Regions from separate parts of the Homo sapiens genome. Here region 2 is linked to region 1. Evidence: promoter capture Hi-C in 16 types of primary human blood cells and fetal thymus (Javierre and others, 2016). All regions are on one chromosome and are shown on one strand. The core of a region is centred on a gene start or on the middle of the fragment in contact, and the rest is flanking DNA. Distances in the headings are between cores, read along the strand shown.

Region 1 (3,497 bases), core at 431-2,930:
TGATGTTTGTAAACAATTCCTGTAACCTTGCATTTTATTTTTACAGTATATTAAAACATTACTCTTAACATTCGTCTGTCACTTCCTTCCCACAGGTGACCTATGGCTTTTTCCCCCCTAGAAAGGGCAGATTCTTTGCAAAACCATACTGAGTTGAACAAAACAATTATTAAAATCCTAAGAACAAAACCATGGAGAACATTTCCACCAAAGGGCTAAAACCAAACAGAAAAAGGAATATGTAACACTGTTCTTGCCTTCAAGACATGTACTGTCAGGTTAAACTTAAATCGATTCCACACACCCTTTTCTGGAAAAAAAATAAAACAAAATATTGCTTAAGAAAGCACTCTCCTTGTTTTTCTTTCTCCTGCTCCAGTTTCCAGGAAAACTTAAAAGTGTTATCTTTGTTTTCTCGTTATCATTATTATTGCTGCAAGATTGTTTTCAAAATTTAATCAATATGCTTTGCACACTGCTTTTGTCTTATGCTTTGTCTTGTTCAGTATTTAGTAGAGAGTTCATAATGTCTAAGTATTCGGGTAAAACTGCAAGTCAAAGGATGACAAAGTTTTAAAAATCTGTTTATCTATGGTTTTGTATTTTTCCAAAGAAACTACAATTTTCACCTGATTTCTGCATCCATTTTCATATCGCTTGAACAGGTTATATTTTTCCAACAACAACAAAAAGACCCGTTGCGAACAACTAGAAATATTTGGAAGTTTTGATATTTTGTCTTTCTCTTCTTTTTGATCACGGTAGTGATGGGAGAATAAACTTAAGTCAGAGATATTTACTGAGAGAAAGAGAGTAAGAACACACACAAAGGGAAAGAAAGCAGAAAAAACTTTACAAGTGCAAACTCAGTAGGAAACATTTTAGGAAATAAAAATGTTCCCCCTCTTTCCCTTGTTCAATTTCCATCCCCACAGAGGAAAAACAGAATACTTACAAGTTAGCATCTGCGTATTTATCAGTGTATGTGTGTTTTCTCTCTTCTCTGGGCTTGGATACTTTGAGCTAATTTGGAAGTGCCCGTTTGGTTGCCCACAAAATGATGCTTAAGGGTCTAAAAACGCATAAATTAGGGAGCCCTACAATGGCAAAGGACGGTCATTGTACCTCCTCTCTTTATGCGCTCTTACGGTGGGACCCAAGAGCCTTTTTTTTTTTTTTTAACACTTTAGGTGATGGAGCGAATGAGGGGCTGATAACTGGAGAGGACGAAGCAAGCCCCCGCAACACCCTCCCCCCAAACTTAGCAGCACGTTCCCCATTCCGCAATTATACCGGACTTTGGTGCGAAGTCACTTTAGAAAACTGGGATCTGGAAGGGGCCAGGCGCGGAGTCCATGTCTAGCCTCGACGCCAGCCTCCGAGTTTCTATTTCTGGTGCTCGAGGGCTGGGGTAACGGCCGCGGATGGAGGAGCGAAGGATGGGAAAAGCAAAGGATGGGAAAAGCAAAGATGGGAAAAGCAACGGGGAGTGATCTTTCCAAGAAACACCCAACTGCCCCTTTTACCTTTTTTTGCCTCCATTATGGGGCGGGGGTTGGGGGGGCGAGAGAAAAAGATGTCAATGACCATTGTTTGCTCGTTTGGGATGTTGCTCCGCCCCCCGAGTCTGTCGTAAACCTGGCGCCGGACTAAAATAAACCCCAGATCCCGCAGCCCGGGGGGCTCGCCGAGCCGCCGACTCCTCGTCACAGGCTCAGCTGCCGCGGCCGAGGTGGCGGCGACGAGCGGCCGCCGCGTCCTGCCGGCGCGCGCCCCAGGCCCCCCTACCTGGCTGCCCGCCGAGCCATGTCGTTGAGCCCAAAGCACACGACGCCCTTCTCCGTGTCCGACATCCTGAGCCCCATCGAGGAGACCTACAAGAAGTTCAGCGGCGCCATGGACGGCGCGCCACCCGGCCTGGGGGCGCCCCTGGGGGCCGCGGCCGCCTACCGCGCGCCGCCACCTGGGCCCTCCTCGCAGGCGGCGACCGTGGCGGGCATGCAGCCTTCTCACGCCATGGCGGGTCACAACGCGGCGGCCGCGGCGGCGGCGGCAGCAGCTGCGGCGGCGGCGGCCGCCACCTACCACATGCCGCCCGGCGTCTCGCAGTTCCCGCACGGCGCCATGGGCAGCTACTGCAACGGCGGCCTGGGCAACATGGGCGAGCTGCCCGCCTACACGGACGGCATGCGGGGCGGCGCGGCCACCGGCTGGTACGGCGCCAACCCGGACCCACGCTACTCGTCAAGTGAGAGGGGCCAGGAGCGCGGGGCTGCGGGCGGCTCAGGCGTTTCCCGCCACAGCCGAGGGGCGCGGGGGCGCGGGACGGGGTGCGCGCGGCTTAGGAGGTCCTGGGGCCGAGCGGGCGCGCGGGGCGTCCTGGGACGCGGCCCGGGACGCGCGGGGTTTCTGGGGACCCTGGGCGCGCGGGGGGTCCTGGGACCTGACCGGGAACGCGCGCGGCGTCCTGGGACCCGTTGAGGGCGTGGTGCTCTGGGACCCGCCGAGGGCGCGCGGGGCGTGCTGGGGCCGGAGGCCGCGGCGGTCAGGGGGTCTTGGGATTCAGCGAGGGCCCGGCGGCGTCGCGGCCGCGGCGTGAAGAGAGCGGCGGCTGGACCGGCTCCCGGCGGGCCTGGAGCTCACTCGCCTTCCCCCTTGGGACTCTTCCCCAGTCTCCAGGTTCATGGGGCCGTCGGCGGGCGTGAATGTGGCCGGCATGGGGTCGCTGACCGGCATCGCGGACGCCGCCAAGTCGCTGGGCCCGCTGCACGCGGCGGCGGCGGCAGCCGCTCCGCGAAGGAAGCGCCGCGTGCTCTTCTCGCAGGCGCAGGTCTACGAGCTGGAGCGGCGCTTCAAGCAGCAGAAGTACCTGTCGGCGCCCGAGCGCGAGCACCTGGCCAGCATGATCCACCTGACGCCCACGCAGGTCAAGATCTGGTTCCAGAACCACCGGTACAAGATGAAACGGCAGGCCAAGGACAAGGCGGCGCAGCAGCTGCAGCAGGAGGGCGGCCTGGGCCCGCCGCCGCCTCCGCCGCCGTCCCCGCGCCGCGTGGCGGTGCCTGTGCTGGTCAAGGACGGCAAGCCGTGCCAGAACGGCGCCAGCACGCCCACCCCCGGCCAGGCCGGTCCGCAGCCGCCGGCCCCGACGCCAGCACCTGAGCTGGAGGAGCTGTCGCCCAGCCCACCCGCGCTGCACGGCCCGGGGGGCGGCCTGGCGGCCCTGGACGCGGCCGCCGGGGAGTACAGCGGCGGCGTCCTGGGCGCCAACCTGCTCTATGGCAGGACGTGGTGACAGCGAGGGCGCCCCGGGGCTAGGTCCTGGTGCACCCGAAGGGTCTGCAAGAAACTGCTAGAACGGATGGGGGAGGCATGCGAAAACCGACTCGCGCGTGTAAACTGCGATTCAAAACGAACCGGTCTCAGAGAGGAGCAGGCTGTGAACCTCTTGCTGGGGGCGGGGGACAGCGACAGCCCGGAAACCGAGTAGTGTAACA
Region 2 (3,497 bases), core at 486-2,985, 1.0 Mb after region 1:
TCCCCGGGGTTCCAAGTGTGGACAGGGGGCCCGGCCTTCTGGCAGTGGCCGAGGGCGATGTTTGTGCTCGCAGCCTCCGCGCGCCCACGGGGCTAGAGAAGGTTTCTTTCGAGTTTGAGAAGGAATTGGCACGGCCTTCTCAGTCTCCCGAAAGCGCGGGATTGGAGCGCGGGCGGGCTGGGCTGGGTTCCCAGAGGAACGTGAATTTCTGAACTTTTGGGTTCTTGGAGGCTTGGGAATGGCATCTTTGGCGGGGCCCGACCCAGGCCGCCCGGAGCTTCCGCGTGGTCCAAGGCTCGGTTAATCCGGGTCGAGTTGGCCGAAGCCCGAAACGCGCGGTCGGCCTCGTGCGCCCCAGTGAAGTTGGCTTTCTCCTCCCCGCGCGGCCTCATGCATTTTCATTCCGAGCGGGCATTTTGTTTGCCGGTTGACATCAGATGCTAAATCAAGGGCTCCAATCAAGGCGCTGCGAAATAAAGGGGCTGCCTGTCTGGGCGCAGCCCCCACGGAGCCGTGCCCCCTTCACCTTTGTGAAGGAAATTAACCTCCTGCTATTGAGCTCCGGTCGCGGCCAATCTGGACGCAAAAGAGACGCGTGCTGGACGGGGGGAGGGGGGGCAATCTGTACTCTGAGGCAGGCTGAGGCCTCCGAGAGGACAAGCCGCCTCCCCTGTGCCACCAGGAAGAGACAACAGCGAAGATTCCCCCCGCCCCCACCCCCACCCCCACCTCCGCTGCCGTTCCGTTTGGACCCAGACTGGGCCGCCTGCCTCCATCCTCTGTCCAGCCCAGCCCCGAGGAAACACAAAAGGCAGAATCTTCGGGGGACAGGGCAGAGAACCCCACGAGTGCGTAGTGGCCCTGATCGTCCAACACTGGGGAACAAATAGCCAAGCCACATAAAATGTCATATGCTGTGAGGAAAATGTCACTTTATTGAAAGAGAAGGAAACATTTTTCTGCAAAGCTTTGTATACCAGACAGATTTTGCTGAGTTTTACTTACGCTTAATTCCACTGAAGGTATTTAATTGTTTTGGATTTTCCCTCTGAAAATACCCTGGCGTAGAAATTAAACATGTAAAAATAGAGTCCACATGAGTCATAAGTTGTGATGGGGACAGTTGTTAGGCTTAATTAATTAAGGGGTTAATCAGGTTGGTTAATCAAGGGAAAGATATTTGATAATTTTATGTTTGTAATATTTTAACTCACACACTGAAAAGGGAAGAATGCATATAGTGAAATATATTTTGAAAAGTCTCACCCTAGTTTTAAAAATGCTGTGGTGAGTGCTAGTCTCCCCAAAAGTTAGAAATCTTAAAATGAGTTTATCTAAAATTTATAAACATATTTCTATCTAAAAGTAACTGATGTTATTTCCTTGCTCTTTTGAGCTCTGATTAATAGTGCTGATGAAATTAGAAGTGGGAAAAGGATTCCGAGACAGCTTTGGCCAATTTTATTTTCTAATCACGAATCCCATCTGGATTGTAGAATAGCATAGGGCGGGGGCTCGGCCTGCCCCATTCGGTCTTGCATATGTAACACTCCTTCCATTCAACAGATAACAGAGAGTTAGTCACCTTGTGAATCCTTTAAAAATAACAACACCCATAATTGTAAATAAGCCGTGGGGATGGGAAACCGGCACCTCTACCAACAAAAAAAACAAAACAACTCCTGCGTGAGTGAATTCAAACAGGGCTCTGAATTTAGCCAAGGGAATCTATTAAACGCTACTGAGATACTGAGATTCAATGAATCCGTTTCTTTTTCTTTATTTGTGGCTTCCAGTCTTGCTAGCGTAAATGAAATCTGCTTTCAGACGGGTACAGTCAAAATAAATGGAAACTTGAAAGGTACTAGTATTGGAAACTAATTTCACCACCCGGGGCTGGAAGGAGTTAGGCTGCGCACGCGCGCACGCACACACCAGCGACCTCCAAGCAGGTGTAGCCCAGCCCGGGCCGTGGATCGCAGCCGCCTTCTGCGTGATTTTCTCAGAACCTGTGCACCCGCATGCATGGGGACATCGGGTCGAGATATTTGTCTTCGCCTGGGAAGAGCAAAGCGCCATCACAGTGCGCCCCCGACGCCGGCCTTGGCGCACGCGATTCGGAGAATGGGCCGCGTGAAGTTAAGTTGGGGGAAACAGCGCGGATTTGCCCCCCTCCAGGGGGGCTTCGCGAAAGTCAGTGAACATAAGGATCCAAGGCAGAGCACCCAAGGGGCCTTCCCCGGCTTCAGGTGACTCCTCCCCTTCCTTCGGGGTCCTGGCCAGCGCTTTGGAAAAATCCCGGGCCTCTTCACTTTCCCTTGCGGACCCCGCGGTGGGTTCTTCCTCCGACGACTGCGGAGCCCGAGGCCCCAGGCCCTCCAATTTCTCCTATCCTGGTGTGCGGGGATGCCGTCGGGGAGCGCGCCGGGGTTCACTCTGACCCTCACCACGGCTGGAAATCAAAGTCAAGGCAACAGGGAGTTTGTAGAAAGCGCGAAGCTTGGAAATAAGAGCAGAAGCGGGGAACTTCTGCGGAGGAGTTGGCTCCTTGGGGTGTCTAGGAGAACAGGAGGCCCTGGCCTCACGGGAGGAGCCGGGCGGGCCCGCATTCTCACCCCGCAGAGGGTATCGCGTTTGGAGACGTCGGCGTTGGGGGTGAGGTGTCAGCGCCCCTCATCACCACTCTGCTGCAGACTTCTCTTCTGGCTTCACAGAAGCCCCCACTCCCGGCCCTCAGTCCCCCGAGCCACAACCGGCAGGAACCGTGCGTTACCGCTGCAGTGCCCGCCGCCCGGAGGGACCAGCGCCTCCCTGCGCCGGGTGCGCCCGACCCGAGCCGGTGAGAGGCTTTGTATTTGCAGGAATGAGGGGTTGTTGTGTCAGTCCCAGGGGCACGCGAGAGACACGCGCAGCCCGCCTGGCCGCCACCCCGCCCGGCCCGGCCCCAGGCACCTTCCGGGCCTCCCGCCCGCGGGCCGTTGCCTTTGTTCGGCGCATTAGCATAAAGCTGCCAGGGATCTCCCGTTTAGATAATTCCACACAAAAGGAGAGTGCATGAAAGAGAGCGAACAAGGGACGATCCGCGAGGCTGCGTCGTGCGTCCTCGCGGGGAGGGACCGCGCTCAAGTATTTCCCTCCCCTCGAGTTTCAAGTGCCCCCTGGCAATCTGCTGCGCGCCCATTATTCGGCCGGGGGCCGACGGCGTGGCTGGCCACCTCTTTTATCCCCCCGAGAGTACCGTCGGGGCCACTGCACGCTCCTTGAAGTGCCCTCAGGGCTGTTTGTTTTTGCCTCAGTGGGACCGTCGGGCCAGGGAGGGAGGAGAGCGGGTAGGAAGGCCCGGGCGGGCGGCGGGAAGGGCGACGTCGGCGAAAGCTGGCAGAGGCGAAGCCCAGAAGGTGAGAAAGTCATAACCAAAGAATTAGGTCAGGGAGAGTCAGGACGGCACGGGACCCATCGGGATGACATTGACCTTGGGGCGCAAGAGGTGTCCTCCA

What was found. Contacts are between HindIII fragments. The CHiCAGO score rates a contact against its expected background, and 5 or more counts as called.
Region 2: a contact is called between a fragment that was not itself captured here and the fragment with the promoter of NKX2-4 in region 1, in 1 of 17 cell types (total B cells). The highest score is 6.6, in total B cells.

The regions. Positions count from the first base shown.
Region 1 is chr20:21,395,709-21,399,205 of GRCh38, reverse strand. It overlaps NKX2-4 (NK2 homeobox 4), which reads left to right and starts at 1,680. Exons shown (of 2, transcript NM_033176.2): 1 at 1,680-2,248; 2 at 2,673-3,497. The coding sequence starts at 1,807. The coding sequence ends at 3,295. It overlaps LOC105372558 (a long non-coding RNA gene), which reads right to left and starts at 1,272. Exons shown (of 4, transcript XR_001754528.1): 1 at 630-1,272. The HindIII fragment of the contact is 6,496 bases long and covers 1-3,497 here.
Region 2 is chr20:20,363,918-20,367,414 of GRCh38, reverse strand. No RefSeq gene overlaps it. Among named protein-coding and RNA genes, the nearest start is that of INSM1, 2.4 kb to the left of the region's middle. RefSeq lists an enhancer at 1-218. The HindIII fragment of the contact is 1,532 bases long and covers 970-2,501 here.